6 separate regions of the Homo sapiens genome follow, and regions 2, 3, 4, 5 and 6 are each linked to region 1. Evidence: promoter capture Hi-C in 16 types of primary human blood cells and fetal thymus (Javierre and others, 2016). All regions are on one chromosome and are shown on one strand. The core of a region is centred on a gene start or on the middle of the fragment in contact, and the rest is flanking DNA. Distances in the headings are between cores, read along the strand shown.

Evidence for each region. Contacts are between HindIII fragments. The CHiCAGO score rates a contact against its expected background, and 5 or more counts as called.
Region 2: a fragment that was not itself captured here is called in contact with the fragment with the promoter of ARLN in region 1 in 4 of 17 cell types (M1 macrophages, M2 macrophages, endothelial precursors and 1 more); the score reaches 8.0 in M1 macrophages.
Region 3: a fragment that was not itself captured here is called in contact with the fragment with the promoter of ARLN in region 1 in 2 of 17 cell types (M0 macrophages and M2 macrophages); the score reaches 6.2 in M0 macrophages.
Region 4: a contact is called between a fragment that was not itself captured here and the fragment with the promoter of ARLN in region 1, in 2 of 17 cell types (total CD4 T cells and monocytes). The highest score is 5.6, in total CD4 T cells.
Region 5: a contact is called between a fragment that was not itself captured here and the fragment with the promoter of ARLN in region 1, in 1 of 17 cell types (naive CD4 T cells). The highest score is 5.4, in naive CD4 T cells.
Region 6: the fragment with the promoter of MYOZ2 here is called in contact with the fragment with the promoter of ARLN in region 1 in 9 of 17 cell types (total CD4 T cells, non-activated CD4 T cells, activated CD4 T cells and 6 more); the score reaches 8.9 in total CD4 T cells.

Annotation. Positions count from the first base shown.
Region 1 is chr4:119,298,535-119,303,728 of GRCh38, reverse strand. ARLN (allregulin) reads left to right here and starts at 3,084. Exons shown (of 2, transcript NM_001001701.4): 1 at 3,084-3,393; 2 at 4,950-5,194. The coding sequence starts at 3,194. The coding sequence ends at 4,950. RefSeq lists enhancers at 3,111-3,340, 3,441-3,490. The HindIII fragment of the contact is 14,870 bases long and covers 1-5,194 here.
Region 2 is chr4:119,067,069-119,072,262 of GRCh38, reverse strand. No RefSeq gene overlaps it. Among named protein-coding and RNA genes, the nearest start is that of MYOZ2, 66 kb to the left of the region's middle. RefSeq lists an enhancer at 3,433-4,249. The HindIII fragment of the contact is 198 bases long and covers 3,006-3,203 here.
Region 3 is chr4:119,084,116-119,089,309 of GRCh38, reverse strand. No RefSeq gene overlaps it. Among named protein-coding and RNA genes, the nearest start is that of MYOZ2, 49 kb to the left of the region's middle. The HindIII fragment of the contact is 459 bases long and covers 2,059-2,517 here.
Region 4 is chr4:119,100,731-119,105,924 of GRCh38, reverse strand. All of the region lies in intron 2 of LOC102723967 (a long non-coding RNA gene), which reads right to left. Among named protein-coding and RNA genes, the nearest start is that of MYOZ2, 33 kb to the left of the region's middle. RefSeq lists an enhancer at 2,297-2,591. The HindIII fragment of the contact is 1,683 bases long and covers 1,820-3,502 here.
Region 5 is chr4:119,472,189-119,477,382 of GRCh38, reverse strand. It overlaps the pseudogene SEPTIN7P14. Among named protein-coding and RNA genes, the nearest start is that of LINC01061, 64 kb to the right of the region's middle. The HindIII fragment of the contact is 675 bases long and covers 2,234-2,908 here.
Region 6 is chr4:119,132,563-119,137,756 of GRCh38, reverse strand. MYOZ2 (myozenin 2) reads right to left here and starts at 1,925. Exons shown (of 6, transcript NM_016599.5): 1 at 1,775-1,925; 2 at 1,156-1,245. The coding sequence starts at 1,231. It overlaps LOC102723967 (a long non-coding RNA gene), which reads right to left. Exons shown (of 3, transcript XR_001741422.1): 3 at 4,203-4,945. The HindIII fragment of the contact is 2,789 bases long and covers 246-3,034 here.

The DNA.
Region 1 (5,194 bases), core at 1,835-4,334:
TATTTTTTGTAGAGATGGGATTTCGCCATGTTGCTCAGGCTTGTCTCGAACACCTAGGCTCAAGCAATCCACCCACCTTGGCCTCCCGAAGTGCTGGGATTACAGGTGTGAACAACAGCGCCCAGCAGATAGTACAACTCTTAAACAAAGAAAACTATTGAAGATATACAAAGGAGTAAGAATGAAAGAGAACAGCCTGGGTGCAGTGGCTCATGCCTGCAATCCCAGCACTTTGGCAGGCCGAGGCGGGCGGATCACCTGAGGTCAGGAGTTCAAGACCAGCCTGGCCAACATGGCGAAACTCTGTCTCTACTAAAAATACAAAAATTAGCCAGGCGTGCTGGCAGACGCCTGAAATCCCAGCTACTCAGGAGGCTGAGGCAGGGAGAATCGCTTGACCCCATGAGGTGGAGGTTGCAGTGAGCCAAGATCGCACCATTGCACTCCAGCCTGGGCGACAGAGCAAGACTCCGTCTCCAAAAAAAAAAAAAAAAAAAGAATTGAAGAGAACAATAACAACAAAATGAATAAATAAAATGACCCAGAAGATGGAGAAATAACCTGTGGTACCAATCAACAGGGTTGTTGCTAGGACAGGTACTCAACTTGAAAAGGAGGAAAAGACAAAGTTAAGATGAGAAAGAATAATTTAAGATAAACACATATATTTCCAGATGAAAATTACAGTAACCAAATTCTCCACTGTTGGAGAGGTTATTCTATAAAATTAATTTAATTCCTAGGATGATCATGAGGATGCTTTATCACATGGATATACTGGCTTGAGAGCTGCATACGAAAAATTTGCATTATCCCTTAGGTTAAAGCAAAATTCATCATCATCTCCCTCCTGAAAACTTATTGCACTTGAAGTTCAGAAGATCTGTAACGTCTTCTTAAAAACACTTAGCTGTCTTTGGCCTGATGGTTATAGCATTTTCATACACCACCTTCTCCACCCCAGCTCAATCAGATTAATTGTGCTGACAGAATTATGGAAGTGTTGGATCATGGTTGCAGTGCAATGATTCAATCTGTAGTCCCTGGTGCATATTTTTCAGTTGAACATGTGAAGTAGAAAGTTCAAGGTGGTTGGACAAGTGCCGAGGTATTGCATGACTGACAGTGAACCTGGATTTCAGTACAGTACTTTTTAAAATTTAAATTGCTTTGATAATGGCAAATGCCAACTGAGCAAGGTGGCTCATGCCTGTAATCCCAGTACTTTGGGAAGTCGAGGCAGAAGGATCACTTGAGGCCAGTAGTTCAAAATCAGCCATAACACACTCTAAACTCATTTCTGTAATGTGGAATAATCAACAATCAGTGGGACTTTTACAAGGGTAAAGTCGGAAATAGAATCTTTCAACTGAATTTAGTTTAAATAACCCCTCCTTATTTGCACTAGTTGCTCTTCCAAGTCTGGCAGACGTTCCTGACTCTAGAACAGATCATACTGTCAACATCCCCTCATGATGAGCATGTGACTCTGGGCCAAAGACAAGTTTAAAACCATTTCAAGACCTGTTCAGTTTATGTCATGCTTCTTCAACACTAATAATCTCAATAATTTTTTATCAATCCTACTTCAATAACTAGGAGTAATTGATCCTACCTTGTCAGCGAGAAGAATGCTTCCATCTCTGGTAGAGGCAATTGTTTATTTGCCTTTCCTAATTTTTGTAAAGATTCAATGCCACTTAAGCCCAGGGTCTTTTTGTCTACTACCATCAGACAATCTGTATTACAGCACACAATCTAATTAATTCTCAGGTAATGGCCCTCTCATCCCAGAATCTACAAAGCATTTTTCTTGAAAGGTCGTATACTATCTTTGTCTCTAAAACCTGGCAATTGATTTGGAGGCAAATTGGAGCAAGGTTAGGAAGCTATGGAACAGCTTTAAGAGTGCTGGATTTGGAGTTAATTTTAGGCTTTATAATTTTTTTAGTAACCTTAGACAATTCACTCCTTTTGTGTCTCATTTCCTAATTCTATAAGATGGAGTACTGCCCCTTCAAAGAGGTTTTACGACGATTTAATGACTTTGTAAAAACACAACTACAGTCTTATCTCCATTTACTATGCACCAAGAGAACCACTTATATGTCTGGGTGCCCGTTATTTTCTGAACAATTCAGGAATCATAATGTGACAAGAAAGAGAATATTTGAAATTGGACCCACGAGGTAAAATCCAGGCAGTATAGGTCATTTTCTTCCTGCTAGCATTCTGTTCTTGCTGAGGCTCACACTCAAAGTCAAATAACCTTTGGGTTATTCTTCCCACCCCCATTTCCCCCCAGATGGAGTCTCGCTCTGTTGCCCAGGCTGGAGTGCAATAGTGGCACGATCTCAGCTCACTGCAACCTCCGCCTCCCGGGTTCAAGCGATTCTCCTGCCTCAGCCTCCCGAGTAACTGGGATTACAGGCGCCTGCCACCACGCCCGGCTAATTTTTGGATTTTTTTTTTTTTTTTTTTTTTTTTAGTAGAGACGGGATTTCAGCATGTTGGCCAGGCTGGTCTCGAACTCCTTACCTCAGGTGATCCGCCCGCCTCGGCCTCTCAAAGTGCTGGGATTACAGGGGGGCGCGGCCAGGTTATTCTTAAACCCACTCCCTTGAAGTACCTGCAAAATGCTCACGTGCTGCTCTCTGGCCCGTTTGGAAACTCAGTCCCGTGAGTAGGACGTCCACCTCATTGGTGGTGTTTAAATATTAAGTGTCAAATGCTAGAGACAGTACAAAACCCACCAGAGGGGGCCTTCCTAACACGTTGGCATAAGGATCCAAACGGAATACGGGGATAGGAGAGGTGACCTCGTGCAGTTTCAGGGAGGAGTCCATCACCTGACTGGACTGGGCCTTTCAGGGGGACGAGAACGTATTTCTTCCAACGAAACCTGAATAACCAGCTATCTGCCTGGGACGCCGCGAGGCAGAAGTAGGCGGGCCCATTGACTTAGTGTCAAGGCGGAGGCCGCGCTTCATGCCAGCGGTCACGGAGGCAGCGGAAAGCCGAGCCAGGCGCCTGCGCGCTGGGAAGAGTAGGTTCAGAGTGCATTCCGGAACCCGGGGCGCGGCGCACTGCGCAGGCGGCCGGACTCCGCTCAGTTTCCGGTGCGGCGAACACCAAAGTCCGGGAACTTAAGCATTTTCGGTTTCTAGGGTTGTTACGAAGCTGCAGGAGCGAGATGGAGGTGGACGCACCGGGTGTTGATGGTCGAGATGGTCTCCGGGAGCGGCGAGGCTTTAGCGAGGGAGGGAGGCAGAACTTCGATGTGAGGCCTCAGTCTGGGGCAAATGGGCTTCCCAAACACTCCTACTGGTTGGACCTCTGGCTTTTCATCCTTTTCGATGTGGTGGTGTTTCTCTTTGTGTATTTTTTGCCATGGTGAGTATCTCGAATGCAAAATTGGGGTGGTAAGGAGCTTAGAGATCATTTGCTCGCTTTTGGGCGGGGAGGGGACTGAATTCCAGAGAGTTTATATATGTCCAAGATCACACAGCTGGTGAGTGGCGCAGTCGGGTGGGTGGGGGAGAAGGACTAGGAGTAAAATGTCCTTCTTTAGCACGTCCGTGGGAGTCTCCAAAGAAGTGTGGAGAAAACTTGGCGTCATATTTTCTCATGATTTGGAATGAAACCAGCTAGGCTTGAGTTCCTGCAGCACCATGAAGCGACCGGAGAAGTTATTTCGCCTTTTGGAGCTTTATTTTTTCATCTGCCATTTGGGACCATTAGTAACCCAGGTCATAGGGGTGTAGTGAAGATTGAGATCGTAGTGATTTGCATGTTGCCTGGCAGTAGTAAGTGCTCAACGAAAGCTATTTTTACTATACAGCTGTTTAACCATGAGCAGACCACGCAGCTGTCTCAAACTAAACATGTCCAAAACTGAACTCTTAACAGCTTCTTACCCAAATTTACTTGCCTTGCAGCGTTACCATTTCAGTAAACGCCAACTTTATCCACCGTTACCTCCCAGAAACCTGAGACACTTTGCCCTTTTCTTACACACATCCACATATCCTAAAACACCAAGTTACAAAATTCTGTAGAGTTTACTTGTAAAACCCATGCTCTCCATTTTCATCGCCACTCGCTCTGAAAAGACAATTCTGGCAGAGGGTAAAGGAAGGGAACTTAAGAGAATAGGGCAGGAGGAAGCAGACACCAAATGGAGATGGTGTTAAGAGACAAGCTAAGGAGAAGCAGTGAGATGAAACAGGGCTCCTATGGGAGAAGAGCAGTGTAGCCCATCTAGACAGCTCTCCTGGACTTTGGAGTTGATTGTTCACTCACTGTTAACTCCTTAGTCACCATGCCTATGAGTTACTTCTGAAATTCTCACTTCTTGATAGGCAGTCACTTCTTCTACACCCCCAACCCCCATCCTATATTTTCACCAAGATTTGGGTGTCTTAAGCCTCACTGTCTCATTTCTTGGATGGTGTAGTAAGTTAGAGAAGACAGAGAGGGCCAGGCACAGTGGCTCACGCCTGTAGTCCCAGCTACTTGGGAAGCTGAAATAGGAGGATTGCTTGAGCTGGGGAGGTCGAGGCTTCAGTGAGCTGTGAACGTGCCACTATACTCCAGTCTGGGAGACAAAGCAAACCCTGTCTCAAAAAAAGGGGTGGCAGGGGAGCGAGAGGGATTAATGGGAGGATGGCAAAAGGGATAGGGATTTCTATAAAATTCTCTGTCAAGCCATTTGTAAAGGGAGAGTTTTACTCTCCCTCCCTGTTTTGGTAGAGACTGATAATCTCAAATACAGTGGGTTTTGTGTGTGTGTGTGTTTTTATGACCTGAACTTTCAGCTCTGGATAGAAAATAGAGGCCTTACAAGAAATGTTCTAGGCTTTTCTTTTTATCAATATGTAAATAGGCATAAAGTGTTAAAAACTGGGAAGATAAAGCACATATTGCTGACAAATACTTGCTTTTTACAGACTTGTTCGCTGATATCTAAATTAAGAAGTTGGTTCTTGAGTGAATTCTGAAAATGGCTACAAACTTCTTGAATAAAGAAGACAGGACTCTCAATAGAAGAATTTCACATCTCCAAGGGACCCTTCCTTTCATTTTACACTTTGTTACTAATTTGCAGAACTCTATTAATTGGGTAGGATTTCACCCATTCCTAGCTAAGTTCTTAAAATTAAACCCTTTGGTTCGTGTTTAAAAACTTTCAAAC
Region 2 (5,194 bases), core at 1,855-4,354, 230 kb after region 1:
CCATTGATACCCTCAAATGATAATAACTTAGAGAAAATGTTAAATTGGGGTAATTTATGACTGAAGAGAAATTTTTGCAGTGAATGCAATACACATATTTTATTTAAATATTTGTGAAATAAATATCAATCTTTTCATGTTAGTAAAAACATTTGTTTTATACTTATGGCTAAAATTCAGTCTTCCTCAGAACTCCTCACTGTACCCCACACCTTTTTTTAATTCTGGAATGACTATTTTTAAATTTTTTAAAAGTTTTTTTAATGATGCATGATAGATGCACATAGTTTTGGGGTACATGTGATAATACATTCAAATAATTTGTAAAGATCGAATCAGTGTACTTTGCATATTTATCACCTTAAATATTTGTCATTTCGTTTTGCTTGAAACATTCAAACTATTCTCTCCAGCTATTTTGAAAAGTACAATAGATTATTGTAAATATAGCCACCCTATTGATCTAACACTACATCTTATTTCTTTTATCTAACTATATATTTGTATTAGTTATTTTTAAATGTGTTTTGTTTTAAGAATAATTCTTAAATTGTTCCATTGCTTTGATTTGGAAGTTTGTCCCCTCCAAAATTCATGTGAAACTTAATCCCCAATGTAACAATATTAAGAGGTGGAGCCTTTAGGAAGTGATTAGCCTTAGGAAGTGATGAGGGTTCACCCTCATTGATGGGATTCGTGTTTTATAAGAAGGCTTGAAGAGGTGAGTTCAACTCTTCCATTCTTTCTGCCATGTGTGGATGCAGCTAGAGGTGCCATATTGGAAGCAGAGTGCAGCTCTTGTGAGATACCAAGTTTCCTAGTGCCTTGATCTTGGACTCCAACTCCAGAACTCAGAAAACATATTTCTGTTCTTCATAGATAATCGAGGTATTCTGTTATAGCAGCAGGAACAGACTAAGACAATTCTATAGCAGAGTAATGATAAAATAGGAACATGTTACAAATTCATATAAGACTTATTTTTGAGAAAAAATATTTATTCATACTGTAAAAAGTGAAAGCTAAATGTATTGTTTGTTTGCAACCTCCTCGGGCAAAGTATCTATAAAATCTGTTCCTATCTGTTCCTAAAAATCTGCTTTTTCCTACATGATAGCATTTTGGAACTTGAACAGTTAATTCTTATTCATTTCTCAGTCTTCCTTTGTATACAAAATGAGAAATTCAGATACATTGCTTATTCAAATGTATTGTAGAAGAACCAGATGAGTTTCATTCGAAATATGAAAATTTTAAACATCACAACCAGAGAACACTGCCGGACATGAAATTTCTGCCACTCTTTTTTGTGATTTTCTTTATCAAGTTCATGCTGAACATGGGGTTTATCTTAGCTGGGCATTGAGTTTTGGTGGTTTTATCACAAAATTAGGATTCTTTTTCCTTTCATCAGCCTTTTATTAAGCATCAACTTCAATAAATCATAGGCATTTTGTATTGCTACTTATCATAGCCATAGTTACTGTAGATAAAACCAGAGAGAGAGAACTTTTGAATTCAAGGATAAAGAGGCATCTAATTGCCATAAACGTCCAAATAATAAAAAGTTATGGAAAAAATATACCCCTTTTATTTATTTTTAAACTATTATTGTTCTCTGTCCTATGTACTGGTCTGGCAGAAAGCTGTGGTATGAATGACATGTAGATCAACAAGAAAAACTACCAAGCCAACCTCTTAAAATGAGGCTAGTCCTGACAGGTCGAGGATCAGCTCTAGGTGCTGCAAAGCTTCTGCAGAATACTGTGATTTGGTTTTCTACGTTGTTTCAACAATGATTGCTTCATCCAAGTGGGGGCAGGGGCAGTACCAAGGATGGCCCTTTACTTCCTGACACACGCACTCTGCGTTGAACAACTACCCCTGAAGATTACACTTATAGCTCAAGTATCCAAATCAATATTTTTTTCTAGAAAAGGTGATGCTGAGAAAAGGCTAAGCAGGTTTGCTAGAACACTGTGATAGATTAACTGCAGAATTCTTCCTGTAGGATTGGGGATATAACGGGCTTCACTAACCTTCCCTAGGCAGTGAAACATCCCCCAAATCTGATGGATCTAGAGTCAGGGAAGTCTGCTTTTGTACCTGCTGGGCCCCAAAGTTGGGCATTTTTCTCTCTGTTCCCTCTCTTTTGAAAATGTAAAATAAAACCAAAAATAGACAACTTTTCCTTCAGCCATTCCAGCATAGAGAACAAAACCTTATGGAAACAGGAATGTCAATTGTGTAATCATTGTTCTAATTAGGTAAATAGAAGTCCCTATGTATGTGTTACAAGAATTTCCCCCACAACATCCTTTATGACTTAAGTTCAATGACAGTTTGCCTTTGGTAGTAAAGGATTTTCTCCATGGCCTGTATTAAGACCATTAGAAAGCACCAGGCCATGGGAGCAGTGATCATCTGCTGACTGTTCTCGTGGATCTTGTGTCCAGGGACATGGGGCGATGTGCCTCGTATGTGTTAGAGGGTGGAATGGATGTGTTTGGCACTGCATGGGATCTGGTGCCCCTCTTCTCCTGGATTTGCATCCCCACCCAGGGCCCGCTTTTACTAAGTGTTCTGCCCTAGCTTGGTTCAAGGAGGTCATCCAACTGACTTTATCCAGTGGAATTGGGATATATTTGATATACTTTTGCCTAACAACATGGAAAAGGGTTTTCCTTTCCCTGCATCCTACTGCTTTGAACTTCCAAGTATGTCTACTCACCTTTTAAAATGTAAACATTTTCAGAAAAATGAGGATTGCTTTCCTTGTATGCACTTTTTATCTTGACTACCTGAATTGCAAGGAATTTTTATATATTCATATGTTCCAAAGTCAGCAACTCTCCTGTTGGTTCATTATTGAATGTGCTGTAAATTAAGTCTTTTGCAATTAAAATGAGGTTTGCCCACATCCAAAAAAAAAAAAGAAAGAAAGAAAAGACTAAGCAGGAAATCCTATCTCTATCTCTATATGTTCATAGTACTATAGACAAGCTTCTTCAGGGGGAATTTAGCCTAAAATAAGATTGTGCCTTTCCTTACATATAACCTGTTATACTTTGTTTGGTAATTTAGAGCAAACCTCATGCTTATTCAAATGATCATGATGAGACAATACTGCCTTATTTTATAAAGCCTCTTCAGACTCTCAGTAAGACAAATAAACTGTGACATTTTGAGGAGTCAGTGAAGCTTTTTCCTCTTGGACAGTGGTGGGAGTAAAGTTTATGGAGAAGGGGGACAGAAAAGTCAAGAAGAAGAAAAGTACAATATAGCAAATCTTTACTACAACTTTAGAGAGAGAAAAAGTGTATCAGAGCAAGATACATTGGAGGCATTTCCTCCTTAAATGCCCTTCATAAAATTACTTGATTTTTATTGGGGGAGGGAGGAAATTGCCAGATCCTTTCTAAAAATATAAACTGTCATGTTTTATAGGGCTATAAAAAATGAAACGCCACTTCATGGTAAGTACTGTTCTGTTAAATTTGAGAAGTCACAGATCTTGTGATTTTCCAAAATTGCAGAGAAGGAGCATTTTGTGCTAAATGCTTCTGTTATTATGTGGACTAGGGAAACACTGACTAATCTTCAGGTATTTCTGTTGCTGTCTTCCTGGGAGACAAGCAAGGGAATTGAACTCTCCTTGCCTCGGGCTGCCTGTTGGCGCTGTATGCAGATGACACCACCTACCTCTCAGTATGTTTTGAAGTTTATTGTTTAGTAAGCACTAGGATTCCTTAGAAAAAACAGGCTCTTTATATAGCATTAGCATTTTAAGGTAGTCTAGTACTCTTAACTCATTTAAATGTTTAAAACACTCTTCGTTCTTTTTCTTTTGTTTTTTCAACAGAATCTCACTCTACCGCAGTCTGGAGGGCAGTGGTGCGACCTTGGTTCACTGCAATCTCTACCTCCTGGGTTCAAGTGATTTTTGTGCCTCAGCCTCCTGAATAGCTGGGATTACAGGTGCACACCACCATGCCTGGCTAATTTTTATGTTTTTAATAGAGAGGGGGTTTCACCATGTTGGCCAGGCTGGTCTTGAATTCCTGACCTCAAGTGATCCACCCACCTCGGCCTCCCAAAGTGCTAGAATTACAGGTGTGAGCCACGCACCCAGCCTCATTCTTAAAGTAAAGTTTTCAAGTACCAGCCTTTAAAAAAATATTTTTTGACACATATGTGATAGGTGGAGCCAAGATGGCCGAATGGGAACAGCTCTGGTCTACAGCTCCCAGCGTGAGCAACGCAGAAGACGGGTGATTTCTGCATTTCCATCTGAGGTACCGAGTTCATCTCACTAGGGAGTGCCAGACAGTGGGCACAGGACAGTGGGTGCAGCGCACCGTGTGCCAGCCAAAGCAGGGCGAGGCATTACCTCACTCGGGAAGTGCAAGGGATCAGGGAGTTCCCTTTCCTAGTCAAAGAAAGGGGCCACAGACGGCACCTGGAAAATCGGGTCACTCTCACCCTAATACTGCACTTTTCTGACCGGCTTAAAAAAAGGCACACCAGGAGACTATATCCCACACCTGGCTGGGAGGGTCCTACGCCCACGGAGTCTCGCTGATTGCTAGCACAGCAGTCTGAGATCAAACTGCAAGGCGGCAGTGAGTCTGGGGGAGGGGCGCCTGCCATTGCCCAGGCTTGCTTAGGTAAACAAAGCAGCAGGGAAGCTCGAACTGGGTGGAGCCCACCACAGCTCAAGGAGGCCTGCCTGCCTCTGTAGGCTCCACCTCTGGGGGCAGGGCACAGACAAACAAAAAGACAGCAGTAACCTCTGCAGACTTAAATGTCCCTATCTGACAGCTTTGAAGAGAGCAGTGGTTCTCCCAGCATGCAGCCGGAGATCTGAGAACGGGCAGACTGCCTCCTCAAGTGGGTCCCTGACCCCTGACCCCCGAGCAGCCTGACTGGGAGGCACCCCCGAGTAGGGGCAGACTGACACCTCACACGGCCGGCCGGGTACTTCTCTGAGACAAAACTTCCCGAGGAATGATCAGACAGCAGCATTCGCGGTTCACGAAAATCTGCTGTTCTGCAGCCACCACTGCGGGTACCCAGGCAAACAGGGTCTGGAGTGGACCTCTAGCAAACTCCAACAGACCTGCAGCTGAGGGTCCTGTCTGTTAGAAGGAAAACTAACAAACAGAAAGGACATCCACACCAAAAACCCAACTGT
Region 3 (5,194 bases), core at 1,039-3,538, 210 kb after region 1:
AATTTTTGCAAAATATGCATCTGACAAAGGTCTAATATTCAGCACCTACAAGGAACTTAAACAAATTTACAAAAAAACAAACAACCCCACTAAAAAATGGCAAAGGACATGAACACTTTTCAGAAGAAGACATACATGCAGCCAACAATCGTATGAAGAAAAGCTCAACATCACTGATCATTAGAGAAGTGCAAATCAAAACTACAATGAGACACCATCTCACACCAGTCAGAATGGCTATTACTAAAAAGTCAAAAAATAACAGATGCTAGTGAGGTTGTAGAAAAAAAGAATGCCTATACACTGTTGGTGGGAGTGTAAATTAGTTCAGCCATTGTGGAAGACAGTGTGGCAATTTCTCAAAGACCTAAAGACAAAAATACCATTCTACCCAGCAATCCTATTACTTGGTATATACCCAAAGGAATATAAATCATTCTATTATAAAGACACATGCATGTGTATGTTCATTGCAGCACTACTCACAATAGCAAAGGCATGGTACCATTGCTACTGAAACTACTCCAAAAAATTAAGGAGCAACCTAATGCCCATTGATGGGCAATGGGCAACCTAAATGCCCGTTGATGACAGATTGGATAAAGAAAACATGGTACATATACACCATGGAATACTATGCAGCCATACAAAGGAATGAGATCATGTCTTTTGCAGGGACATGGATGCAGCTGGAGGCCATTTTCCTTAGCAAACTAACACAGGAACAGAAAACCAAACACCCCGTGTTCTCACTTATAAGTAGGAGCTAAATGATGAGAATACATGAACACAGAGAGGGGAACAACACACACTGGGACCTGTCAGAGGGTGATGGGAGGGAGGAGGGAGAGGATCAGGAAAAATAACTAATGGGTACTAGGTTTAATACCTGGGTGATGAAATAATCTGTACAACAAACCCCCATGACAAAGTTTACCTATGTAACAAAGTTGCACTTGTACCCTCTGAACTTAAAAGTTAAAAAAAAAAGGAAAGCAGGGGTTGGAGATGGAGCACTGACACCAAGAATAGGTGAAGGCAATTTCGATATTTGCACCTTTGGGAGTTTGGGACACCAGCTTTCCATGTCAAATGGTACAAAAGCTCCTGTGCCACTTCCAAAGTGCTTTGTAAGTTTCTTCTGTAGCAATTAAATATTGGGCTGCCTCTAGGTTAAGTCCTGCCTTCCTTTTCAGGTCTCAGCTCAAACATAACTTTCTCTGTAAAGGACTGGGTGCCCCTGGGATGTGTACTACATTCAGCACATATCACTGTTTATTTTGCTATTTCATTTACCTTTTTTGTCTCCTTCACTACTTGGAAGCTCTATGAAGGCAGAGAGTTGTAGTTCCCATGTCTATCCCAGTGCCTGCTTCGTTATACAGTCAATCCATCATTTCTGATGTGATAACTGTGGATTAAGTGGGTTTCTGCAGGTGATTGCCCCCAGGCAAGAGAGCTAAATAGCTATCAAAATTCCCCTGGGACAAGTCGCTGCGGAGCAATATATATTTAGGCAGAGCAGACTTTATTATATTATTTGCTGTCTACTTGGAGCCCAGTACATAATGTGGTTCTGTGATGGCATCAATGTTAAGAAAAGTGATCTTTCAGCCACAGAATCGGCGTTTATGAAAGCCAATGCTTAGTAAGTTCAGTCATATAATGTGTGGAGAGCTATGTTTGCTTCCTGTTGGTTTTATATATGAATGAGAAGTGTCCAATAACTGTCCTGGCACCAAATTATTAATTTTTTGTGGTACACAGATTACAAGGCCAGGATCTGGAGTCAGACTGCCTGGATTTGAATCCTGAATCTTCCACTTATTAATACAAATGTGAGCTCTTGGGGAGGTAAGGTGACAATTCTGTACCTTACTTTCCTTATCTGTAAAATGGAGTTTACAGTAGTAACTTCCTTATAGAATGACTGCGGGGATTAAAGAAGTTAATATGTAAGAAAAGTCTGACACATGGTAGGCACTCCCAATAATTAACTATTATTATTGCCATCTAGTGGTTCTTTTACTGTAGCAGTGGTTTTCCACAATTAAAGCTTAAAATGTCCATACTTAATTGATTAAGTCCTTCCTAAATGTATTTCTTATCTTGGTCATTCTCATCTCAGTAAAAAGTATGCCATCCATCTAATGGTTCAAATTATAAAAATCTAAACGTCAACGGTAACATCTCCGTTTCTTCCACAGCCCACACCAGATATATTTCCAAGGCCTACTGAGTCTAGCTCTCAAATTTGATTAAACTCTGTGTTTGTTCCATCTCTGATTACTCCACATTAACCACTGTTTGCCTGGACTTCTGCAGGAGCTTCCTAACTGGTGCTTGACCTTCTTTAATTCATTGCCCCAATTTTTAAATGCATAGATCAAAGCAGTTTACTTCCAGCTAGGAAGCCTCTGACATCCCAGTGCTTTTAAGACAAAATTCAAATTGCTTATAACCTACAAAGCATGCCAAGCCACTCAAGAGCTGTGAGTTTGCCTACTTCTCAAAGCTTTTGTTGCCAAATTTTTCACCATCAACTGCTAGGGCCATGGTCACGTGAGCCTTTCTGTTTCTTGTCCACAGCAAACTCTTTCTTGTCGACAAGACTTGCTGTTCTCTCTGCCTGAAATATTCTTCCTCAACTCCTTACAAGGCTGAGCATATTAGCCTTGAGATCTTAGTTAAAATATTAAGTGCTTGGAGAAGGGTTTCTTTCCCATTGCTGTTTCTAAGATGGCCTTTGTTATTTACTCTCTCTTTTATCCACTGCTTATTACTTTCCTGGAACTTATTATTTATTTGTTATTTTTATTATCTGTATTTCTTGCTACAAGCACCTCCATGAGGGCAGAAACCTTATCTACCTTTTCACCACTGTTACCCTTTTGACTAACAGAGTACCTGGCACAAAATATAAACATAATAAATATTTGTTGGAAGAACTAAAAGACTGAATGAAGTCTATTGTGGCAAAATTGGTTTGGAGATCAAGAAACCATAGCACTCTCAGTTTATTCATCTATTCGATAAGCATGTATTATGGACCTCCTATAAGTCATTCACGTATTCTTTAGGTGTTGAAAAATAAAAGGTGAGCAAGTCGTCATCTCTAACATTGACTAGAAATGAAGTGTTATGGAAATGCAGAGGAGGGAGTGACTAACTGCTTAAAGAATGAAATACTTTAATGAGTGATATTTGAGTTGCTTTTTAAATTTTATTTATTTATTTATTTATTTTTGAGACAGAATCTTGCTCTGTCACCCAGGCTGGAGTGCAGTGGCATGATCTTGGCTCACTACAACCTCTGCCTCCTGGGTTTGAGCAACTCTCTTGCCTCAGCCTCTTGAGTAGCTGGGATCACAGGTGTGCATCACCATGCCCAGCCAGTGTTTGTATTTTTGTTAGAGGCAGGGCTTCACCCTGTTGGCCAGGCTGGTCTTGAACTCCTGGCTTCATGTGATCCACCTGCCTCAGGCTCCCAAAGGGCTGGGATTACAGGTGTCAGCCACTGCACCTGGCCCTTGAGTTGCTTCTTGATGGATGAATAGGGTCACAAGCTGGGAAAAGAGAAGAATACTTTAGACAGAAGAGCATGCTCAAACATATAAAGAAGGAAACATAAACAGTAGGATTGGGGAAATAGATTGGCTGGTTGGAGTAGTGGTTCAAAGGGGAGCTGGGAAGATAGATAGATAGACTTGTGCTTGATAAGGCGGTACTGGGCTTTTCAGGAAGGAAAAGGAAACAATTTTGAGAGTTTAAGTGGTTCAACATTAACAGATCTAAGTTTCAGAAATATAATTATTATAGAAAAAAGAATAAAATTGGAGGCAGGGAGACATCGATGGGCTATTTTTATTTTTAAATTTTAAAAATATATTTAGAAGATACAGATGTCGTTTTGTTACGTGGATATATTACATAGCAATGAGATCTGGGCTTAACCCTCACCCAAATAGTGTACATTGTATCCAGCAAGTAATTTTTCATCCTTCACCTCTCACACACTCTCCCACCCTTCTGTCTCCAATGTCTATTATTCCACTCTTTATGTCCACGTGTACCTATTAGTTAGCTCCCACTTGGGAGTGAGAACATGCGGTATTTGACTTTCTGTTTCTGAGTTATTTCACTTAAGAGAATGGCCTCCAGTTCCAACCATTTACTGCAAAAGACAAAATTTCAGCCTTTTTTTATGGCTGATTAGTATTCATACACAGACACACACACACACACACATATTTGTATATATATTTCACATTTTCTTTATCTAATCATCTGTCGATGGACACTTAGGTTGATTCCTTATCTTTGCTATTATGAATAGTGCTGTGATAAACATACAGGTGCAGGTATCTTTTTGATATAATGATTTCTTTTCTTTTGAGTACATACCCCAGTAGCAGTATTGCTTGGTAGATTGAATGTTAGACCTATTTTTAGTTCTAGGAGAAATCTCCATGCTATTTTCCATAGACATTGTATTAATTTACATTCCCACCAACAGTGTATAAGCATTCCCTTTTCTCCACGTCCTCACCAACATCTGTTGTTTTTCGACTTTCTAATAATAGCCATTCTGACTGATGTAAGAGAGTATCTCATTGTGGTTTTAATTTGCATTTCTCTGATGATTAGTTATGCGGAGCATTTTTTGATATGCTTCATGGACATTTGTATGTCTTCTTTTGAAAAATGTCTGTTGAGATGTCCTTTCTCCACTTTTCGATGAGGTTATTTGTTTTGTTGTTGTTTGAGTTCCTTGTAGATTCCGGATATTAGTCCTTCCTTTGTCAGATGCATAGTTTACAAATATTTGCTCCCATTCTACACGTTGTCTGTTAACTCTGTTGATTATTTCTTTTGCTGTGCAGAAGTGTTTTAGTTTAATAGGTCTCATTTGTCTATTTTTTGTTTTGTTGCATTTGCTTTTGAGGTCTTAGTCATGAATTATTTACCTGGGCCAATGTGCAGAAGAGTTTTTCCTGTATTTTCTTCTGGTATTTTGAAGTTTCAGGTCTTACATTCAAGTCTTTAATCCATCTTGAGTTATTTTTTGTATATAATGAGAGACAGGGGTCCAGATGCCATTGTAATAGCTCAAGTGACAGATGATGAGGGCCTGGAGTTGAGTAGTAGTACAAGGAGTAGAGAAAAGTATTTCTGCACTCCACTGGGAGACCTT
Region 4 (5,194 bases), core at 1,412-3,911, 200 kb after region 1:
ATAGAAGAGCTAATTTTAGAAATATAGCCAGTTCACTTTGGTTTAACTACATCCTTTGCTCACTTTATGCACTAGAATAAGATGACCCCTTCTTCCTGAATGACAGGAAATGGTTTTTCATTTTTCTGAATACACACATAAGCTACTATTGCATAATCTATTCCAACCTCTTTCAAAATCTTTCTCTAATTCATCTATTTGTTTCATAGAACATTTTGGTTATTTCAATATTATAGAATCCTTGACCTTAACTCTTTATTCCTAAATAACAGTATTTAAGAGTAGATTTCCACTGCGAAAGTATTTGTGTGTTTATATACGTGCAATGTGTATATTATATGTAATTTAATATAAACTTTGTCTTTAATAAGTTGTGAGGCTTTTTGCATAGAAATAAGACACTGAATTAAATGACTTTCTTCAAGCTGGGTAATTCTGATTATCTTCTTCATAACAACTTTGTAATTGATAAGTTTTTAACTCTATTCAAATTGAAAGTGAAGAAATTCATTTATAAGAGGTTATATAATGCACTCAACAGTTGCATATCATTATCATATTATTAGGATATATAATTTATGACAAGCAATATTTCTGCATAGTTATTCTTGGCCATTTGGCTATGGCCATTTTCATTGAACAAACTGGCAAAACAGCAATAAAAATAATGACAGCAACAAACACCCATTTGATGTAAATATTCAGTAAAGAATAGTAAAGACAAAACCAACCTGAGATCCGTAAATTCAGTTAAGAAAGTGACAAGGTTATAGTGAAGATATGTAAAAGGGCAAGTCAAATTCTGCTTGTGTGCTCACAGACCTGTAATGCTGTGTGACGGGATTCAGTGCCAAGCCAGTTTTAGCAGTCTTTCTTTTTTTCCTTACCATGTTCACAGCCTCGATCGCTACCAACAGAGGTAATACAAGGCAATAGAGGCAAGAGGCACAACCAATAAAAGGGTAGTAGGCCCTTGGTTGGGTTTTCAAGTTACATATCTGCTCTGGTTTATGGGCTTTCTATGAGTATATGCTATTTCTTTTTCTTTGCCAAGTCACCTGTTTCTCAAGTCTTGGCTTAGGACATGTGGTAGGCAGGGAAGCATGCCACTGGCTCACAGGGAACTGTGTTTGTTACCCTTGTTCTCTGTTATTTTTACTGTATAAAGCATAAAGAACCCTGCAATTATGATGCTTAATCATTTATACTCTAGGGCTGAGGAAGGGAAGGATTATTCCCTCTGTTTTTTTATTACTATTTTTCCTATGGTCTTTCTACTTTGCTAAACAGTTAGATTTCAAGATACTACTTAACAAAGCAATGATCTACATGTTGATGTCTGACATGCAAATAATCCCCAAGAATAACTGGAAGTTTTAAGTAATATTTGAAATATTAAATTACTTAAATATCTGAAATAACACAGAGATAAGAAATAGAATTTGTTGTAGAAGTCACATTGGTCACCAAAGAGAAGCAAAACATTGTGTGTAATGTCTGCTCTAAACCTGGTGGATGATTTTGAAGAATTTGAGAAATTACTTCTTTCTAAAGAAGAACTTAATAAAGGCTCTGAATAGCTGAAAACTAAATGAATAAAATTAAACTACTGTATTACACAGGTCAACTTTTTCCTCACTTATAAAACCCAATTATTAATTATGCATCAGACTGCATTAATTGCTACATATATACCTTATGCATAACTTTTATATGTATATTTTTTCTTGCTTAATGTTCACAGCAATATGCATGGATCAGGCATTACTATCCACATTTTGCAAATGAAAAGTCTAAAACTTAGAGCAATTAAGAAGCTTTCCCTCAACCTAGAGCTAGTAAACAGACCCAAGATTTGAAGCTAGGTGTGTTGGCTAAATCTACATACCTAACCCCCATATTATAGTTTTTCCTTTGTGGGTTTTTTTGAAAAAAAAAAATTTAATCTGCATTTTATATTGTACAAAAGTGAACTGGCTAAAGCCTTCATTCTTTCTAATTACTATTTGCTTCTGAACTAAAGCTATAAACTTTTATTATATTTGGTGAGCATTTTTGAATTAAACTAGAAGATTAGGATACAAGTTCATGGACACACAGTATAAAACACTTTTTAAAAGACACTGGCACACTCGTTCTCACCTAGACAACAGATCATAGTTTGAAAATCTGTTTTTGTGAAAAAAGCTGAACCCTAGCTCTTGAATTAGCTATCCCAGTACCCATGTTGAAATAGCTCAAAAACATTCCTAGGAAAAATACTCCTAACTTAGTGGGAGTGGTTTTATAATAAAGGGTGAATTACTTTTGCTTTATGGATCATTCCTTTTTTTTTTTTTCCTTAGTCATCTGTTACTCTTAGCTGCTGGTAATGGAGAGGAAATGGTCTTACATCATTTTTCAAGCATGTTTAGTATTAGGTCATTGTTAGTGGATGGAAGGAAGTTGAATGCTTGGAATTTAAGTGACTTACTCAAGATTACAACAGTGAGTCATTTACTCAGCCAAAAAGAGAGCAAGGAACTTCCTGGATACAAGTGTGGTGTGCGCTGGCAGCTCCATCTGCCCCTTCTTTATTGATGCCTTTTCAAAACTATGGGCTTTTTGTGAAGGCCAGATGGGTTTGCCCTTGAGTGTGACCACCACTCTGCTCCGAGATACATCAACTTGAATGAGGATTTGTTTTGATGGTTGGCATATAAGCCTCAGAGTTTTATTTTGAGATGTTAAATCTAAAAGCGAAGATTACATGTTGATTGCTAATTTCTTTGAACAAATTTTGCCCTAAGAGTTTATTGTAAAAATTAACTGGGCATGGTGGTGGGCGCCTGTAATCCCAGCTACTCAGGAGGCTGAGGCAGGAGAATCGCTTGAACCTGGGAGGCGGAGGTTGCAGTGAGCCGAGATTGCGCCACTGCACTCCAGCCTGGGTGGCAGAGCCAGACTCCATCTCAAAAAACAAACAAAGTTTATTGTTCCTGAAGGACGAAGTCTTTGAACTTCAGGTAGTCATGAGTTGAGGTGTGGGTATAAGGAATGGGGACAATGTGCCCCACTGCCCTCTTGTTTTGAAACATAGCTTACAACCATTACCCATTCACTTGGTATAATGTAGTATTTCAGGATAGGCACGGTTAGTTCTGACTCACACAGGTATCACTGTTGTCTGGACATGAATGATTTCTAGAGTTCATTTCTCATGAAACATGTTTTTATTTGCAGGGCTTTAGAGCTTTGAAATTAATTCTACATTATACATTGATGATTCTTTTGTCAACTTTGTTTTTCTCTGTCTATTCCTAATTCTATCTACCATATAATTTCTGTATAGTAGTTGTTTCCATCACAATTTTTTTCTGTGAGCTGTGATTACATAAAATTAGCCTTGTTGACTTATACTTTGATATCTTTCTTGAGACAAGCCAGCGATGACCCCAGTTGGACTGGAACAACAGACCACTTTGTTGGTGTCTTTTAATACAGCCAATACTAATAGGAAGCTTTATCTTTCTTAAGTATCTTCTTTCGCTTCCCCTTCACAGAACCTTACAGGGGCCCCATGGATCAGCAATATTGCTTATTAAATATAATTTCAACTTTTAATAAGATTTTCTAAATTCTTCTGATCACTTCCTACTTTCCTTACATAATGACAGTCATTGCACATCAGAATACAGGCCCTCAGTCCAGCAATGTGATTTTCGTTCTTATGCTCAGGTCATATGATATTCGTCAAAGTGGTTGCTCCCTCTACTAGTCACTCTTGGAATGTACTCCCACCCCCACTCCAATGACATCTCTCACCTCCTCTAAAAATCATTTTCTGCTGTGGTGTTCTTATCTGCCCATGATAGTTATTATATTTATTGTCTTCAGAGAGTAGAAAACAGAAAAAGACCAAGAGGGTAACTGTAGTCAGTTTAATTCTGTCTCATCATCACTTCCCGTCAGCAATCCACATTCCCCCAACCATACATGACAACTTACTTGCATCTGTAACTTTATGTTTTGCCCTCTTTCCTATTACAAGAGGTGAATTGTCCATTTTTTTTTCTTTTTTTTGAGACAGGGTCTCACTCTGTCACCCAGGCAGGAATGAAATGGCACAATTACGGCTCACTGCAGCCACTATCTCCTGGGCTCAAGTGATCCTCCCACCTCAGCCTCCTAAGTAGCTGGGACTACAGGCATGTGCCACCATGCCTGGCTAATTTTTGTATTTTTTGTAGAGACAGAGTCTCCCTATGTTGCCCAGGCTGGTCTCAAACTCCTGGGTTCAAGAAGTCTGGCCACCTAGGCCTTCCAAAGCGCCAGGATTATAGGTGTGAGCCACTGCTCTAGGTCCATGGACTTTCTTCCTGCAGTTATCCTCTCTTTTTCTCCATTGCTGTTGTTTTTTCCTTCCTTTCTTCCTTCCTTCCTTCTTTTTTTTCTTTCTTTTCTTTTCTTTCTTTCTCTTTCTTTCTTTCTTTCTTTCTTTCTTTCTTTCTTTCTTTCCTCTCTCTCTCTTTCTTTCTTTCTTTTCTTTCTTTCTTCCTGATGGAGTCTCGCTGTGTAGCCCTGGCTGCAACCTCCGCCTACTGGGTAAGTGATTCTCCTGTCTCAAACCCCCGAGTAGCTGAGACTACAGGCGCCCACCACCATGCCGGGCTAATTTGTGTATTTTTAGTAGTAGAGACAGGGATTTCACCATGTTAGCCAGGCTGGTCTTGAACTCCTGACCTCAGGTGATCCGCCTGCCTCGTCCTCCCAAAGTGTTAGGATTACAGGCATGAACCACTGCACCCAGCCCTGTTTTCTACTGGAGTTTTTCCATCATCATAGAAACATGCTATGCTTTTTTTCTCACATCAAACAAAAGCAAAATACCTTGCAAATAGAGACAAGCACAATAAAACACCTTCTGTGGTCCTTTTCTTTGCTCCCTTTTAACATAAAAATTTGTCTACACTTGCTTTCTTCAGTTTCTCTGTACTGCTCCATGGAAACTGTTTATTGTCATGGTCACTAAGTTGCTTAAGCAAGAATCTTTGAAGTCATCCTGGACTTCCTTCTTTCCTTTGCACTCCACAAACTATGGCTTACAGGACAAATTGGCCTGTCATGTGTTTCAGTAAATAAAGTTTTATTGGAACACAGTCATGGCCACATGTTTGTCTTTCTGTGACAACTTTTGCATTACAATGGCAGAGTT
Region 5 (5,194 bases), core at 1,322-3,821, 170 kb before region 1:
TATAAATTTTCTACTATAATTTGAACAAGGTGATTTCTCCAACCCTTTTAACCACTGCATGTTATAGCACCATAAGATTTAATTAACACAACAAATCTAAAAAAGGAAAAAAAAAATCTGCCCTCATCTCTCCATGTCAGAAACAAGGCTTAATGATTGTGGGATTATTCCAAAGAATAGGAGAAATGAAATTTATAGGAAAAGCTATAAATTAACAGTGTTTATCTTGCTAATGAAGGAGAAATAAATATTTGTTTAAAAAAATGCCTAAATACAATTTTGTCAAGAATGCATAATTTTTTAAAATTGTAGGCAGATTAAATTTAAAGAAATAAGGCCAGGCCTGATGGCTCACATTTGTAATCTCAGCACTTTGGGAGGCCGAAGTGGGAGGACTGTTTGAGCCCAGGAGTTTGAGACCAGCCTGGGCAACAGAACAAGACCCTGTCTTTACAAAAAATAAAAAATTAGGCTGGCATGGTGGCACGTGCCTATAGTTCCAGCTACTTGGGACTGAGGTGGAGTATTGCCTCAGCCTAGAAGGCAGAGATTGCAGTGAGCCATGATCACTGCACTCAGCCTGGGTGACAGAGTGAGAACCTGTCTCAATAAATAAATTAATAAAGAAAATAATTTATCAGTCCAGACATGCATCAAGGCAGGCCTAGGGGTAGTATGGAATAGGGATCCAACTCATATTATGAAAGACAGGTTCTTATCTAGACTGTTAGAGTTTCAGTCTGGGACAAAACTAAGTCACACGAATAAACAGTCATGATAGAGGGATGAAGGCTATGCATGGGTCCGTGGATTCCCACTCCAAGCTGATACAGTGCTGCCTCTGTCAAATGTCCAAATGAGACCAACGATGAGCTCCTAATAACATCATCCCTGGAGGAGATCTCTGGCCTGTTGATTATTTTCAGCCTGTCCTACCCTAGAAGGGGTTGCAATTAAGCTTGACTGGAACAGACACATTTTGAGGGTATGGTTTTGCCTTTCCTGCTGGCAAAGCCTCAGCATCTGGGGGCTACAGAGTGTTTGATCCATTGTTATGGAATCCTGTGTGACATCACATCAGACCAAAGAACTCAGAGCAAAAGCAGTACACCCCTGGGTACATGATCATAAGATCCACTGGATTTATAACCTGCCACATAGCCCAGAAGCTGGCCTTTTGAAGGGACAGCTGAAGAACAAGATTGGAGCTGATATACTTCAAGGGTAGGGCTGCATCCTCCAAGATGAAGTATACACCTATTACTAATCATTATATGGTAGTCTGTCTTCAACAGACCAAATACATGGATCTGGAAACTAAAGGGTAACAGCAGAAATTGTCCTTTTGCCATCACTTCTCGCTCCCTCAACTCTGGGCTCTGTGAGTTAGAAATCCTATTTTTTAAAGGAAATGCTTCCTTCAGCAGACACAGCAGAAATTCCATTAAACTTAAGCTGTGGCTGCTACACAGTCACTTTGGGGTCTGTGTGCTGAGAGACCAAGGAAAGAAGTCACTATCCTGGCAAGAGTAACTGACCCAGAGCATCATAAAAAAGTAGGGTTGCTATTCTACACTGGGTACAGAAAGAAATATGTTTGGTACCCAGATGATCTACTGGAGCATCTTTTAGTAATTCCTTGCCCAATTTTGAAAGAAAATGTGAAATGCAGCAGCCACAGCTTGGGAAGCGCATAATGGTCAAGGTCTAGACTCTTTAGGGAAAGTCTCCAAGGACTTTATATTCTGGGGGAAGATATACCTTATTATAGCAAACCAGTGTAGTTACTAATATTTTTAATATATTAGTATAATTATTACAAACAGGAAAGGAACAAGAAACACAAAAAATCAAAACAGTAACTCTTGGTGGGGAGACGGACAGAGCTGAGATTGGGGATGAACACAGGGAACTTCAACAGTTTGGCAATTCCTCCAGAAGAAAACCCCAACATAAGGATTTGAGCATAAGTAGTTTATTCAGGAGGTTATCACAGGAAACACTAGTGAACTACTTATTTCCCTGCGAAAGCAGAGAAGACAGATGAGAAGAAAGTAAATCCATATAGGCTAAGTTAATAAGCGGGTTATTACTGTGGACAACTGGGGCTCGATTTCACGTGGAGACTGTTTCCTCTTTGAGACTATATAACCGCAATTATTTTTGCACCAATCTAATAAAATATCAGTGTTCCTACCTGAAGGCAGGGGGCTTGGATATTTATCCACAAGCTTTTCCTCATTATTAGTTGAGGGCTGTTCCTGGTAACCTTAACTCCCTGGCACTTCCAGCATGCTCTGCCTGCAGGAGATAAGCATATTTCTAAGGCTAGAGTGCACAGAGGCATATCATCTCAGGTGCTTAGAGGAGACAGCCATTACTGCCTTTTAGAAATACTGAGTACCAAGGAGATATGCCTTCTATTATACTAGTCTACTTCTTAAATTGGGGGTAGTAAAAAGGGTATTTATTGTATTATGTGTCCTATATACATGAAATGTATATTAAGTGGACATATTCCTTAAATTACCATTTTATTCTTTGCAAGGTGTTTGTTAGAAATGTGGACTTCTTAATATGTTTTTGTTTTCACCGATCTGCTCATTTGCAGCAATGGGACCATAGACTCCCTAGAGTCACTGGGCTGTAACACATTATTTGAAAAAGTTGGCCCTTCATTGCAGGAAGGCAGTTGTAATTAAGTTTAAATATGGTATTTTACCAAGCAGCAGGAACTAATTTGCAATAACTTTAGAAACTATATTTTAGGAAAATAGCATGATACGAAATTAAACTCGATTTGTGTGTCTGGTTTTTTTTTTTTTTTTTTAGTATGTGGATCATTTTTATATAGTAGGATTTTGGTATTTGGGGTTTCAGAGTTCATATACCATGGGCTATGAAAGCTTTTTTAATTATAGTTAACTCAAATTCCAATTATAGTATTCCAAGCAGAAACAGTTCTATAAAATCCTCTATTGTGTGGCTGGCATGTTACAGTTTCATTTATTAAGCCAAATGCACTATAGGCTAAGCTTAAGGAGGAGGATCATTCAATTGACCAAGGCAAACAGAGCTGACAACTGGACTATACTTTACAGAACAATACATTACAGTTGGACTCAAGGGGGAAACTGGGAAACGTGGTAATTTGTACCTGGTTACACAAATGGCCAAAGGTGCCTGAATTATTTTTAGAGAATTATTGTTGTCCTTTCAAAATCCTTAGAGCCAATAGCTCTACATAAGGTAAGTTAAACAGACAACAAATATTTATTCACTATATTATCCCTTTAATAGAACAGCTTTTAAAAAAAAAAAATTGAAGAAGTTTTTCAAGGTTCGTTTTGAAAAAAGTCCTAAAGCCTCTAATACAATGCATATCTGTATTCTTTAATACAAGTTTTAATATAATGCTCTGTCAACAACTACCTCCAAGGTAGCTGAAGGTTAATAAAACACTTTTTACAAAGGAATTGACAATTCACTAGCTTGAAGGTCCTTAATTGTTCTCTGAACAAGACCAGACTCACCAGTCTATATCTGAAGGTGGATCTCTATTTACATTGTCTAAAAATTGACCAGAAGCTGTGGAATAAGCTGTTTCAGAATAGCTCACAAAGGCTAAATCTATAGAGGTAGAGATGAGGGCATAATAGAAGAGTTGGTAACGTAACATGTTTAGTGGGACATTTCTAACAGAGATCATGAGAGTAAAATGCACTGTGATTCCCTTTAATTTTACCTACCAATTTTTGCCCAGGCCTATTTGATGAGGCAGACCAACTTAGTATGCCTTTGTAACTGTACACATTTCCATTTTATAGTCGTTAAAATGGATTAATCATTAGCATTTGAAGATTCTATTTTTTCTCCTTCATACACAAACCCAATAAATAAATGGACAGATGGATGGATGGATGGATGGATGGATGGATAACTATAATTTAAATTGGAAATTTTGACTGATACAACAATATACAAAATACATTTCAAAGTGAAACGTTGGACCAGAGAGCCTAAATTTCAAGGATGGTGACTGATATTAAGTTCTAATACCCACAACATAGATATGTAAGATTATGGTAATTGAGAGAATTTTGTGAGGATTATTTCAGTGGAAAAATAAATGTACTGTGAAGGAACAGTGATGATGGTTGTATGTACTACATTTCAAGATAGTCACTGAACTCCATAAGTATTTCCTGCACAATCTTGTATTTAAATTTTTGGTATCTTGTTCATCATGGTTTTTTATATTAATAATTATTTTTAAAAATTTTCTTAAGGTATGTTTATCTTGGCCAGGCACAGTGGCTCACACCTGTGATCCCAGCACTTTGGGAGGCCGAAGTGGGCAGATCACCTGAGGTTGCAAGTTCAAGACCAGCCTGGCCAACATGGCAAAATCCCGTCTGTACTACAAATACAAAAATTAGTTAGGCATGGTGTGCCTGTAATCCTAGCTACTTGGGAGGCTGAGGCAGGAGAATCGCTTGAACCCAGGAGGTGGTGGTTGCAGTGAGCTGAGACTGTGCCACTGCACTTCAGCCTGGGAAACAGAGTAAGATTCCATCTCAAAAAAAAAAAAAAAAAAAAGACATGTTCATCTTAATTACTGAGTTTTCTGGTACTTTCTTAAATTTTGCACTCAAAAGACATGTATTACTAATTCCACTCTAGTCACAGCCCTGACTGGGGGCATACAAGGTAATGCCTGACCCTTATCAGAGCCTGATAAAGCAGCCTACGACAGCAGGATAGAGGTAGGAGACCAGGAAGGTAGTGTATGCTGTTTTAATAGTGGGTCAAAAGTATGTGAATTCTAGGGACTAGATGAAGAACAAGAGGTAGAAATATCAGCCTAGGGTTATTTAAAGAGGTTTTCTGTCCAAGAGTGTAGTCTGTGAGGGCTGAGGCAACCTAGAAATAAATGGCTTTGGGATATACTCTTGCAAGACAGAAATTGAAGGGCACAGAGAGTGGCCAACTGAAACTGAGGCACTGCCACACTTGGAGAGTTAGACTGAGAGCCTGGGTGGTTGCAGGGCCCCTAACTCTCTGCTCTTTACCCTACCCTCCAATCCTAGAGGGGTTAAGCATGAAGGTTTATGGCATATTCTTCCTTGAAGACTGCTGGCCTGCCTACAGCCAGGTCTTGGGGCCTGCCTACAGCTAGGTAGTGGGCTGGGGA
Region 6 (5,194 bases), core at 676-3,175, 160 kb after region 1:
GGTATCTGACTCAGAATTATTCTCATTTTATTCCAAGCTAATTTGACATTACAGTAAAACATGAGAACCAAGTTGAATCCAGTACAGTGGTTCTGTATTGCAGAAAATAGAAAACAACAACGGACCTCTTAGTTATGATTACATTGCGTGGGGAGCATCTAAAAGTCTTTGATTCTGTTCCTCTTGCTTTATGGAAGGTGTAATATGAAAACATTATGCTCAATACTCTTCCCGGGTCTCAAGCTTCTAGGTCTCAATATTGTAGTGGTGAAAGGCTGCATTCCTTGTCAATACAGGGGAAATAAGGAGGCATTCTGAAAATGCCACTAATATATCTGGAATGGCTCAAATCAGCTCCTAAGAGGACCTGAATATTTTTCTTAACATTTAAAACTGATGCTATACGTTGCTTATAAACAAAGTTGAATTTCCTTTATAAGAATCAAAATGCAAGTTATAAAGCATTGCTTTCTCAAGTTAGTTGCTAGAATTTAAAGAAAAGGAGAGAGTGAAATATTACCTTGCACGTAATATATATTAAAATTTTTTTGAGTCATATGCTTTGAGACTACAATAACTTTATATTTTCTCAGAAGTTACAAATAAAAGTAGACTTTGCACACAAAATATGTTAGTAAATCAATTAACAAATATGAAGGGTTAAATAAATAAGCAATAGAAATGGAGTTAAATAATAAGCAATAAATATGAATTCCAACTTAATAGCTTGATAAAAAAGATGATAGAACTTATTTTGAGTGATTTATATAATGTAAGGTAAAAGAAATCAAGCTAAACCATGTGGGATGGACAATAAAGACAAGATTGTATGAGACTTGTCCAGAAAAAAAAAAGAATCGAGAGTGATCTTAACTTATAATGTGGAAGGCAAGCCAAGCAGAATGTACATCAGCTGTCAGATTGCTTCATGCCTTTTACAGCAGTTGTTCCTCTGAAAATAGCTTCCAAATGAGAAAGGATGACTACAAAAGGATTAGTTACCATAGGCTTTTCTACACCCCCTAGAGCTCCAGGTTTGTTATGACAGAACAGCAAGAATCTAAAGGAAGTAAACTATGGAATATTAAACAACGTCAGGATGGAGCCACATTCATGCTGTGCTATATTAATGCTACGAAGGATTTTTATTGATACCATTTCCATGGACTTCCTTCATGATGGCTGTTGCTTGCTGTTTTCTCTGCTTCATCATAGTATTATGTGATAGCATGGTTTTTTTGTTCCCTGTTAAAAACAAAGGGACATTATTGAGGCAATGTGAAGAACTCATTTGGAGTGTCTTATAATCACTGTTTTGAAAGACAACATCTTTGTTCTTTATTAAAAAGTTATTATCGCTTGCTACTGAAAGACTTCAATACGCATTCCTTATCTGGTGACAGAGTATGTTATTCATTGACAGGCAATGTCACAGTGAACAGAGACCCAGTCTGGACATTAATACAATGATCATCAGGCAGTGAGAAACAATGAAATTGCTGGTCTCCTTTCCCCTCCCTCTCTTTTCTCCACAGTATTTTAGTCTGTCATTGTCTCCTCACTGGCCTTCATTTGTACCAGCATCACACTCCATCAATTCCAGCAAACTGTAAGAATGAAGAAGACACTAGACTAAACCAGAATTCTTTGGTGGTAGCATTTTAATATTGGCAACAGCTGCCCTTTAAAGCAGAGAATGCCCATTTATGAGTCACAACTCTGAATATCCTTGGACAACTGACTAATGAAACATTTTAGGAAACAACATACTCACCTTGCTGTTAGATTGTGCTTTTTCAGCGGGGATGAATCCCAGTTTGTGGAGGAAGACTCTGGAGATGGACTATGGATGGCACTTGGGCCTGATGGTTTTTATCCTTGAACCTGGGACAGCATGGTCCCTACTCTGACTCAAACTGGGGACTGAGCTTTTCTGAAGAGACTGGCATTCAGCTGACATCAACTGGCTATATATAGCACCAAATACTTTAGCTACTCATATCTTCCTGGCGAAAGGGAGGAACAGGGAAAGATTAGGCTCTCTCCATTGTGTTTCTAGTTTGTGAGATGGTTAAATGAAACGTTCATTGGACATGCAGAAAGTTTTTAGTGAGCACTTTCTGTTGAACAGATAGTAGCCAAAAGGGATTTTAAACACTTTTAAACATCTAGCTCTTATGTTACATGTTAATTGAGGTGGCAAGAGACACATGCATGAATCAGAACAGAATGATAGATTTTTCATAATTAAAATGAACAATATAGGCAGTAATATCTATGTAGACTCAAGAAGAAAGGAAGTAATGTGGGGTGGATCAATAGAGCCAGTTCTTAAGCTGTAGTGAGAACTCATGCTAGGTTGAGAAAAGTATGTAGTATTTGAATAGTGAACTCAGGAAGCATTTTGAAATGAACCATTAGAGGATAAGCCATGAAGCTGGGTAAAAGCTGAGACTCATAACTGGGTCATGCTTTTTGAAGGGCCTACAGAGACCAGTCCCTGCAAAGTTGACCAGTCTTTACAATGTCTAGGGTCAAGGATTTTCATTTGCAGGCCTGACAAGATTTGAAAGGTTTGCCTGTCAAAAGGTTTGGCCTCCTTGATGGTCCCTGGACACAAAAACGTGCTCTCATCTCTGGGCTTTTCCTTTTACTGTTTCCCCCTTTCCTTTTACTATTTCCCCCTTTCCCTGGTTGAAATGGTGTCCTCAACAGATAATCATTATGTTAATTTTGGTTTCCAAAATGAAAATAGATACTGTATTCCTTTTACTATTTCCCCCTTCCATACTTTCCCTCTACTCACATGGCACAGTCATGCATTCAGGACTCTGCTCAGATAACAATCCCTCATAAAATCCTTCCCTTATCACCTTGTCTAAAATATCACACTGTGCCACTCTCTAGTCCCTTACTCTGCTTCATTTTCTTTATATTTTTCTATTAGTTAAGATAAAAGTCAAATGGGAGTGACAGAAACCCCCCCAAAACAGAACTGTAAAAAGATGGAAGATGTTTCTCTCACAGGTAAGCTTAGTCTAGAAGTAAGTAATTGAGGGTTTGCATGACTGACATAATTATCAAGGGCTCAGTTACCCTCTAACTTTTTGCTCCACTATCCCTAAAATGCAGACCCCTTGGGCCTAATTGGCTGCCCCAGCTCCAGTCAGCATGCATATATTTCAACCAGCAGGAAAAAGAAAAAAAAATGAGAAGGGAACACTGTCTTCTTTTCAGAACATGTCTGATATTTTGTTCATACTTCTGTTTACATCCCATTGGGCAGAACTTAGCCATATAGCCGTACATAACTCAAGAAAGGTTGGGAAGTGTAGCTTCTATTCTAGGTGGTCATGAGCCCAATTAAAATTCATACATAACTTACTAACAAAGAAATAATTGTTGCTGAGTGACAACTCAGTTTTTTCACTAAGAACATGCCAACATTATTCTATCTATCTATCTATCTATCTATCTATCTATCTATCTATCTATCTATCTATCTAGCAAAAGTTTATGTTATGTACAATTCTAAAGGTTGAAATGGCGTCCTCAACAGTTTTACTAGCACCTGTAATCCCAGCTACTCTGAAGGCTGGGGTGGGAAGATTGCTTGAGTCCAGGAGGTAGAGGTTGCATCTATTTATGTGATATCTCTTTTTTCTACTAAACTATGAATCCTATAATGGCTTGGGCTTTGTATCTTCAGCAGTTGGAATTGTATCTGGCATATGGTAAGCACTCAATATTCATTGAATGAATGAATAAATGAGTAGGTTGGAGATTAACTGCAGAATGCATTAAAGGTTTGGCATGAGTTTGGAATTCAAATGAACAGTCGCTTGAATGTACAAAGGTGGTGGCTATTTGTGGGAGGAATTGTATTTTATAAGATTGAAATCGGTTATACATTTTGGTGCCTGATCATAGGATTGAAAGTTTAAGGTTGTAAATCACAGCACTTTGGGAGGCCAAGGTGGGTGGATCGCTTGAGCCCAGGAGTTTGAGACCAGCCTAGGCCAGCTAGCAAAACTCTGCCTCTACCAAAAAAGCAAAAACAAAAACAAAAAACCCAAAAATTAGCCAGGTGAGTGGCATGCACCTATAATCTCAGCTACTCCAAAGGCTGGGGTGGGAAGATTGCTTGAGTCCAGGAGGTAGAGTTTGCAGTAATCCATGATCAAGCCACCGCACTCCAGCCCGGGCAAGACCAGACCTTGTTTAAAAAAAAAAAAAAAGAGAAAGCTAAAGGTTGTAGATAGCAGGTTTAAGCTAATCTAGCTAACCTATTGCAATTGTTTCTAAACAAACCATTTGCATTGAAAGTATAATTAGGTATCAAATGAGAAACAATTTTGCCAAAGCAAATAAATTTAAATTCCCTCTCAAAATCCCTTGAGTGCCCGTATGTTCCTGGCTGTAGCCTTTACCATAGTATGCTATTAGACAAGTCTTTTAAACTCTGTTTTCTCATCTGTAAAATGGTGATTACAGTATCTATCACATAAAGTCATGGACATTTTACATGGGACAATTTAGAAATTCCTTATACTTAGTAAAAATTTAATAAATGATTTTTTTCCTTTTGCTATTATTATTTCTGCAATATGGTAGGATTTAGAATTTTAGAGTAATCAACTGCATTATTCAGTTAAAAAAACCAAAGATTAAGAGAGTTCTGGTTTTCCTATTTGATCATCTTCATATGTTTCCAACTTTATGTTACATACAGTTCTAAAGGTTGAAATGGTGTCCTCAACAGATAATCATTGTTATATTAATTTTGGTTTCCAAAATGAAAATAGATACTGTATTTTAAAAGATTGTAAAAGTTTTAGTGAATATAAGGTCTTACACCTTTTTGTCTATTTTTCAAATAGATTGTACTTAAAATTCTCTTGCCTTATTTTATAAGTTCATTCTGGTCTCTGAGTTATTATCTGTTCTGAAAAAGAAGAAAGAACAAGTCACTGATGTTGCAGTCTTAAGATGGGATATGCTATCCATGTGCTTCACAGCACAAATGGTGAACTTTAAACAGAACTTTAATGGTTATTTACAAAGCATTTTCAGGTGGTCCATACTGAAAGCCAATGCCTTTTAATTTTAAATCAAGTCACAGTTAATCGATTTCTATTTCATCTGCACAGAGATCTGGTACTAGACAAAATTAAAATTCAGCCCAAATTCGTCA